Regions from separate parts of the Homo sapiens genome. Here region 1 is linked to region 2. Evidence: promoter capture Hi-C in 16 types of primary human blood cells and fetal thymus (Javierre and others, 2016). All regions are on one chromosome and are shown on one strand. The core of a region is centred on a gene start or on the middle of the fragment in contact, and the rest is flanking DNA. Distances in the headings are between cores, read along the strand shown. Region 1 overlaps FAF1 (Fas associated factor 1). Region 2 holds the start of DMRTA2 (DMRT like family A2).

Region 1 (4,221 bases), core at 1,195-3,694, 180 kb after region 2:
CCAAATACATGCTTGCAGTCTGTCTTTTTTTCTAATTATAAATGACAAAGAATAAGACATTTTAAGAGTATTGGAAGCTATAAAACCTGTTATGGGACCTTGGGTCAGTAACCAAGAGTCTTAACATCTCCTTTTGTAAAATATAGGTACGACCAACTAAATGGCCTCTCAGATCCCTTCTAGCCCTAATGGGCTATGATCTTCATACATCACTAAGGAGATTTGGTTATGTCACCTGCAGACTCCTTGCTCTGCATGTGACACACCCAGTAACACAAGTGAACGAGATTCAAACTACAGCTTTACTGTTTTTATCTTTTATTCACTCAGTTTGTAAAATACAATTCTCTTGTGTTTTAAGAAGAACAATTAATATGAGACATTTTTTAAAAACCATATCTCAAGCTTGTCATCGTCCTCACAAGACACTGATGTAATTTCATCCAGATTTGGGAATGCTACCGGATATTAGCACTGACTACACTGCACTGATGATCTTTTTAATCTGTGTATTTGTATGTCAAGATGTATCCAACTGTACACTTAAAAAATGTATGGTTTATTACAGGTCAATTATACTTCAATAAGGCAGTATTCAGTGCTATTAATATATGCATTTATATCCTCATATAAAGTATTGCTTTTTTTTTTTTTTTTTGAGACAGAGTCTCACTCTGCCACCCAGGCTGGAGTGCAGTGGTGTGATCTCAGCTCACTGCAACCTCCGTCTCCCAGGTTCAAACGATTCTCCTGCCTCAGCCTCCTGAGTACCTGGGACTACAGGTGCATGCCACCAAGTCCGGCTAATTTTTGTATTTTTGTAGAGATGGGGTTTCATCATGTTGCCCAGGCTGATCTTGAACTCCTCACCTCAAGTGATCTGCCCGCCTCGGCTTCCCAAAATGCTGGGATTACAGATAGGAGCCACCTCACCCAGCCTAAAGTATTGCTTTTTGACATATATATACATACACCCATGAAACCATTCCGTATTTTAAAAAGCAGTTGTATAATAACTGCTACTATTAAGAGCTCAGTATGTATTGTTATTACACAAAGTGCTTTACACGCACTACCCCACTTAATTCTCACAATAACTCTGCCAGGTAAGGATTATAATCCCCACTTTAGAGATGAGGTTACTAAATCTCACACAGAATAAGAAGGTTGCCCAAAGTCAAACAGGTACTGACTGGTGAACCAAAATTAAAACTCAGGCACTTTATCTCACAACCATTTAAAAAGTATCCAATCGAACAACTATTAAGGCTCTAAGATATCTTGTCTTACTATCTGATAACCAGTAATTACTTTCTTTGGCTTAATTAAAACAGCTACTCCTAGATACCATCCATTAGTCAGAAACTACATAGTAAGTGCTTAACATATGTCTACCATACATGACAACTCTGTAAATTAAAGACTATCGTGATTGTACAAATCATAAAACAACCTTAGAGTAGTGGAGTAACCTGTCCAAGATAAATCAGGTACCAGATGGCAAACCAGATTTAACTCCAAAAGCCATGGAGTTTTCTATTACATCACATTTCCAACGTAGATAAGGTTTTTTATAGTAAGGAGTCCTGAAGATGACTTCTAGAATACCCCTTTTAAATTTTCAGATGCTTACTGTTCAGCTAAATAGATTACTGAGGTAGTTTTAAACCGAACTGAGTCATGAGGCTAAAATTTCATTTACTGCCAACCAAAGCGCAACTCTAAAAAGCTTATTTTTATTCACAATCCGAGGTTTCTTCTGCCCTTCCCCCAGCCATTTTTTTTGTCACTTATGTGCTAGAAAAGTCACACAGAGCTTTAATTTGTGGCAGGTTGAAGCAAGCTTATCAAGAATGCTAGTTACCAAGTGTACATGCACTTGTCTGGACTAGCCCACTGCCACATTCTTGTAGCAGGGTTAAACAGCAGTTTAGTCACCTCATAAAAAAGCACACTGTTAAAAAGGAAGTGACTAATAATATTCTGGAACCAACAGAATATTAAAAGACATGTGCAGGTCAAGATCAATTATCAACAAAACTCCTGTGTAAATAGCTCAAAAAACTGTGTTCTCTGCCTGGCCTTGCTGCGTTATAGTCCTCAATTGATTTGGCAAGTTGGTAAAGTTTAATGAAATAAACACCAACAGTTACAAGTTCTCAGGCTTTTTGCTATGTACATAAACACAAACACTACCATGTAAGCAACCGGAGCTGGAAGAAACAAGGATGGCTGCTATACATGGCTTCATTTTACACACAAGATACTAGATTTGGAAGAGTCCTCAGAATTCATCAGTTGCTTGTATCCCAACCAGGAGATCTTGAAGCCTTAGCTGAGTCAAGTGCTACTGCCATATCTTCCACCACTCAGCATCTCCCTTGCCCCATTCCAAGCTAGTAATAAGAATTTCCAGAGAGAAGGTATCAGCAGCCTTCTCTTAAACTTCTATCAGTGATCCCACCATCCCCAACAGATTCCAAATGAAAGGCAGTTTCTCCTCACAAGATAAGGGTCTAATCCTCTCACTTAACAGGAAAAGAAACTGAGGTATAGAGAGGTAAAGTGTTTGTCCCAAGTCTCACATCTGCTTAATGATAGCACAAGCATGTTCTCTTCTTGACTCCTAATCTCGGTTTTTCTTTTTCTTCTTTTTTTGTTTTTTGAGACAGTCTTGCTTTGTTACCCAGACTGGAGTGCAGTGGTACAATCACGGCCGACTGCCACCTCGATCTCCCAGCATCAAGCAATCCTCCCACCTCAGCCTCCTGTGTGGCTGAGTCTGCAGGTGCATGCTGCCATGCCCAGCTAATTCTTTAATTTTTTGTAGAAATGAGGGTCTCCTTATTTTTTGTAGAGATGGAGTCTCATCATGTTGCCCAGGCTGGTCTTGAGCTCCTGGGCTCCCCCTTTTGGCCTCTCAAAGTGCTGGGATTACAGGTGTGAGCCACCACACCCAGCCAGCTATGTGTTTTTTAAAGATGTTACAGTTAATTGTAAAATACTAACAAATATCTTGATTTAATTATCTCATATTTTCTTTTTAAAAGCTTTTGGAAATATATATAGTAATTTTAAATGCTCCTGACTTACTTTTTTGGTTTCTTTCATTTAATCTGGTGGGACTCTCAAAATCAAGGAGAATCACCTGATGCTATTTTCCACATTATAATTACCCACTTTTATGCTTCCTTATACTGTCCCAACATTATCTTGAGATTTTGGCTATCAAACAGAGGTTGCTCAATATAAAAGGTTTTTTTGTTTGTTTGTTTTTTTAATCTTCTAGGGCATTTCATCCCCTAAAACCAGATTATGTCATAGCGAGATAAAGAGCTGCTCACTGTAACAGAATTAGCACAATTTCTAAATGGATATGCTTTTATAACTAAACACAGACATCAATATTCTTGTACTTCATTACTTATTGATTTTAGTGAGTACACTAGAAGAGGTTCTGAAGTATTTTACGTCATTAAAATACTTCTGAAGAGCATTAAGTTACACAATAAGAAATACAACCCAGACCAGCCTAACACTGTCTAATGGCATAGTCCCTCATACCTTTTTAGAGAGAATGGTCAACTTTACCTATATAAAAAAGTACTATCCTCAGGTAAGTAAGTGCTCAAGATGTTATTTGTAAGGCAACTTTAAACCAAAGTTATTTCAGCTCAATCAAGAACTCTGTTTCAAAGTCAACTTTTTTTTTTTTTCACAGAGGCCAATAATCCACACTGTGAATTAAAATAGCCCTTCTTTCACAGTTCCTATCACTACAGCTTTATGCCATTTAGTTGCTTATGAGCACCCTCTGGTGGAGGGCAGAAGAGGGAAAAGAACATATTAAACACATTGCCTATAACCAGTAAGAAGGGTGAGGGGGAAAGAGAGATCTGGAATATGTGCAGATTTCTCTTGACTCTGCTTTTCTTCCTCATATTATTTGATAATTTAGAACTATTTGTTGAATGTTATACTAACCATATAGTTACTCAGAGTTGATAACTTATTCAATAAATATTAAGTTATTATATGTCAGGCACTTGGATCCAAATAACCTGGCCTTGGAGCCAGGCTTTGATAACTAATGTCATTTCTCAGGAAAGCTGCTTATCTCAAAACATCTCAGTTTCCTTGTCTGAGAAATGGGAATAATATCTTTGTTGACAGCAATAAAGAGATAAGTGAAAAAATATGTAGCATAGTGGACTAGATTTT
Region 2 (4,599 bases), core at 1,950-4,449:
ACCCTTTCCAAAATTGAGACCTGAGAAGTTCTTCCCTCCCAAGTTTAGAGCGGATCCCTCCTTTCCCTCAACGGCTCTGGCCTAATTTCTTCCCTCCCCACAAAAAGCCACGGGGGTCCAGAAAAAGAGGGTGGTGCTAGGCAGGCAGTAGGAAGCGAAGAGGAAAAGACATAGGAAAGCAGACCTGAGAAACCAGGGAGGGTGCGGAAGAAACTAGAAGGAGGGAGGGCGCAGCAAGCGGTTGTCCAGAGGGCGTTAGGAACGCGAGAAGGGGAAAAGAAACTAGGGCGTCTCAGAACCTAGGGCGTCTCAAAACCTAGGGTGTCAGTTAAAGGGGGGGGGATTCCTTAAGGGAGTTGGGAAGGAGCAGAGGGAAAGGGCCTGTGGAGAAGCGCAGAGCGAACGAAGATGCGCAGGTTTCCACCTGGGGAGAAGACGAAGCAAAGAAGCAGGGACCTGCCTGCGTTTGGGTAGAGGCGAGTAAAAAAATTAAAGCGTGTACATTTCGGCCCGATGCAGGAGAAAGGGGTAAAGTGCAAATGCTCCAGAAGCGGGAGAAAGGAGAGTTTCTGTACCCACGCTCCATACCCGAGGCTGGGCGAGCGGTGAACCCTAGCAGTCGCGGCGACTGGACACGGGGGTTCTACTCTTTCTGAACCGAGACAAGCCCCTGGGCCCCGTGCCCCAGAGCTACGATCCTGCTGCCCCTACCTGCGGCCTGGCCGCGCTCTCACCTGAGCCCCCTGCGCCAGCTGCTCCGCCTCCGGTCCCCGCGGGCGCTCCCGCTCCAGGTCCCCCGCCGTCGGCGGCGCACACTGAACCGAAGACCTCGTAGGCGGGCCTCGGGGGGATGATGCCGTTGGCGGCGGCCAGCGCCAGCCCCTCGGCAGTGCCGTAGAGCAGCTGCAGCTCGCGCGCCTCGTTCTCCTCCTGCGCCTGCTGCCTGCGCAGCGCCACCTGCGCCGCCATGACACGCTGGCGCTCCGCGATGAGCGTGCACTTGGCGCACAGGCAGTCCTTCCAGCGACAGTAGCGTTTGTGGCCCTTGAGGGCCGACACCACGCCATGGTTGCGACAGCGCGCGCACTTGGGGGTCCGCGGGTACTTCTCGGCTGCCCGCAGCAACAGTGGCGGCCCCCGCAGCAAGCCGCCTGCCACGCTCACCGGTAGCGATGCAGCGGCCGCCGCGGCTGCCGCCACCGACGCCACCGACGCCACAGGCGGCCCCGTCGCTGTTGCCGCCGCCGCCGTCGCCGCGCCGGGCACGCTGGGCAGCTCCGAGCGCAGCTCCATGACAGGACCTGACGGGAAAGAAGGTGGGAGAGGGGAGAGACCTGGTGAGGAGCACACCGCGCGCTAGGCCAAAGCGCCGCCTTGAGGAACCCAAGCTGGAGAGGGAAATTTGGGCCGCGGAGGCTGGGCTAGAGGGGCCAGAATTGCTGGGAGGAGGTGCAGTCGGAACCTCCTTGTGAGCCCTAGCACCTTCACCCCAGTCTGGCCATGGCTGCTCTTAGACCTGATATACACGCTAGGGGTAAGATTTTGTCTGAATTAGTGATTCCGCTGGAAAAAATAAAGAGACATGTAAAGTGTGAAAGTCACTGATTCAGATGGCTGTAATGAGAATTTGGAAAAGTTAAGATGATACCCCAAAGCTTAGCCTAATTGGGGTGAGACGGGTGAGAGAAATGCTCGTTTGACGGGACTGGGATTAGAGCGACAGTTTTGGCCCAGAAGTTAGGCTGATGCCAAGGGCAAAACAGGAAAACCCGGAGCAAAACGGTCAGTTTGGTGGAAGGGTGAAGAGGAGAGAGATGTGAAGGCGCAGATGTGAAGGCCGGTTGGGCCGGAGTTTTGTTTCTTTTTGTTTGTTTATTTTTAATGCAGTTTGGGGCAGAAGCTTTGGAGAGAAAAATCAACAACAGAAAGAATAGCTTTAGGAAGCAGAGTGAGGACGAGGAAACAACTTGGGCAAAGTTAGGCCCAGTGGCTCTGGGACCCGTAAAAATGTGAGCGCCAAAAGTTCCACGGTGAGGGCCTCCAGAGAGTGAGAGACAAAATGTATGTGGAATTTAGCTTAGGACTGGGAAGTATTAAAGAGAAAAATTCGGCCAAAGAAACTTTCTGTATAGGCAAACCCAGCCCAAAGATGAGCTTCATGGGCAAGGAAAACAGTGAAAAGCAGCTGATCTGGGTGTCCGGGATCCAGGGGCCGCGCCTGGGAGAGGGGAATGTGTAAGAAAAAACCCCACAGGCAAATGCTGGGGGAGGGGATTGGGTAAAACCTGTGGTGCAGTTTTTTAGCTTCGCAGTCTGGAGTAGTAGTCGGGGCGGAAGACGTATCCTGCGAAAAGTTAGGCATTTCGGGAGGGGGATCTTTCTCGAAGACCACCTCACACTGCCCTCCCCTCCCCTCCGGGTTTAGGGACAGAGTCGTCAGACACGCCCTCCCCGTCTTGGGGTCCCAGGGGACCCCTCTCGAGCGCAGGCTCCTGCGTTCTGATCTCAGAGTTGGGGTCCTAGGACACGGATGGCCCAGCAGGCCGCACCAAGCCAGGGGAGTCGCCTTCGCAACTGGCCATAAACGGACACCAGAGTCCCTCCCACGCCGCAGCCCCATAAGGCCCAAGCAGGCCCAGCTCCCCGCTTCTGCCGCGGTCTCCTCTGCTTCCCGCGTTCCCCGTCCCTGCCAGAGCCCGCGACAGAGTCCTTGTGTCTCCGTCCGAGAGTCCCAGACCTCCTCTCTATGAGCGTTGCCTCCTCTCCCAGACCCTTCGGGCGTCCCTAAGGCCCACGGGGCCCAGGCCTCCTCAACAGGGGCCGCAGACCAGGTCTCCACCCACTGCTCTCCCTGCGGCCCTCAACTACCTGCCTTGGGCTCCGGGATCCTCCTCCTCCGCTGGCGCTGCACGCGCCTCCCGGCTCCACTGGCGACGCTGGAGCTCTTGGCCGCTTCCCTTTGCCCCCGGCCCCTTATCTGACCACGTCACCCTCCTTCAGTCACCATGTCCGAACTTCCGGACCCCTCAGAACGCAGCGCAGTCCAACCCTCCCTTCAGAAATCCGGGTCGGAGGCTCGTCTGCGGGCCGCGTGGTTGGAACCCGCGACCTGACTCTCGCCGTGCCGGGTCCCCTCGCGGTGCGCGCCGGACGCTGCGCGCAGCCGGGGCCCAGTTGCCCGGCGCTGCCAGACTCTCAATGAGCCGCTCGCCCGCTCTATTGTTGGTCCTTAGGGCTCCATTAGACAGAATTGGACAACAATGTGGCGCCTGCCATTGGCCAGGGGAGGCAGACGGCGCTCTGATTGGCCGGGCCCGCGCCCGGGGAGCCCCGCATTCTGCAGTGTCCGAAAGATTCGAAACTCCAAAAGCTCCACTGCGTGCCTCTGGGAGGGGAGGGGGCGCGCCAGGAAAGGAGTGGAAAAAAGTGGGCGAGGAGGAGCGTTGAAAATTTCCTGACAAGTAGTTTCCGTGCGCCCGAGAGCGTGTGAATTGCTCCTAATTACCGTGTCCGGTGCGCCTCTCTGCGTAGACTTGTGTAACCTCTCGGCTTCTGGGGCGCCGGCTCGGCTGCACCGCTCTTACTGGCCTGGGGCGCTTGGCAAAGCCGAGCTTCCCAAGTGGCTCTGGAGCCCTGAGGCGGGATGGGGGGCAGGTGACAATTCAATTACTGCGGTCGGGGTAGGGGCGGGACAAGGGTGCGGGGGTGGGGAAGGGAGGGTGTTCAAGGCATAAATGCCAGGACGATTTTTCCTGCCTTCTTCCTGCTATGTTTCGGCGCGCTCCCAAATCCGACGAGTTTGGGGTAGTTGGGGGCTGCTTTGGTTTTTTCCTCCTGTCTCCTTAAAGCTCAGTTACTTTATTTTAAAAGTCCTGATACGATAGTCATCCTGGAGGGTAAGTGTGGTTTATGAAGATTTTCGTGTTTAAAGAGAAGCTCAGCGAAGAGAAATGAGATTGCACTTCCTGTCGGTGCCCGCCACGTCCCTCGCGCCCTGAGCCTTTCCTCTCCCCGCCCCTCTTTTCGCGTCCCTCAGCCCCTTTTGAGCTCTCTTTTCCTCACTTTTCAGCATCTCGATTTCTTTTCCGTGGTGGTGGGATTCTTTTTGTCGTTATTGCAAATGAACAAATAGCCCCCCCCCCTTTTTTTTTCTTTTCTAAACGAAAGTAAAAAGTGGCCTCTGTGTCTCCGCAGATTCTCTTAAACTCAGGACGCGCATCGGTCTGTCCGACCTTCCCGGCAAGAGACAAAGTCACTGCTGGGAGGCCCCCTCGGACAGTTTTCAGTTTTAACTTTCGCCTTATTCTCGTCTTGTCTTGATGTCACGGCCCTGAGGAACAGCTCGTTCTGCAGAAGAGGTAACAGGTTTCAGATTTTGTTTCCTTTTTGAAAGGCTGTTGCCTTTCAAACATCTGGAATTAATGCCGCGGCCCTCGGGCGAGTCGCCCTCGGTTTCTGTAGCTCTGATTTTATCTCTGTGTCTTTTCCCCTCTAATTTCTAAAGTTCTGTTTTTCCCTCTAATTCTGTTTTTCCCTCTAATTTCTAATGTTCTGTCACTCTCGTTTTTGTTCTCTACTTTTCTCTCTCTCCTTCAGAAT

What was found. Contacts are between HindIII fragments. The CHiCAGO score rates a contact against its expected background, and 5 or more counts as called.
Region 1: a contact is called between a fragment that was not itself captured here and the fragment with the promoter of DMRTA2 in region 2, in 2 of 17 cell types (endothelial precursors and megakaryocytes). The highest score is 6.7, in endothelial precursors.

What each region holds. Positions count from the first base shown.
Region 1 is chr1:50,601,863-50,606,083 of GRCh38, forward strand. All of the region lies in intron 8 of FAF1 (Fas associated factor 1), which reads right to left. Among named protein-coding and RNA genes, the nearest start is that of FAF1-AS1, 160 kb to the left of the region's middle. RefSeq lists an enhancer at 1,484-2,683. The HindIII fragment of the contact is 1,207 bases long and covers 1,842-3,048 here.
Region 2 is chr1:50,420,244-50,424,842 of GRCh38, forward strand. It overlaps DMRTA2 (DMRT like family A2), which reads right to left and starts at 3,200. Exons shown (of 3, transcript NM_032110.3): 1 at 2,873-3,200; 2 at 735-1,301. The coding sequence starts at 1,293. It overlaps LOC105378714 (a long non-coding RNA gene), which reads left to right and starts at 3,303. Exons shown (of 3, transcript XR_947325.3): 1 at 3,303-3,654; 2 at 4,195-4,358; 3 at 4,597-4,599. RefSeq lists an enhancer at 996-1,495 and a silencer at 4,323-4,382. The HindIII fragment of the contact is 17,148 bases long and covers 1,899-4,599 here.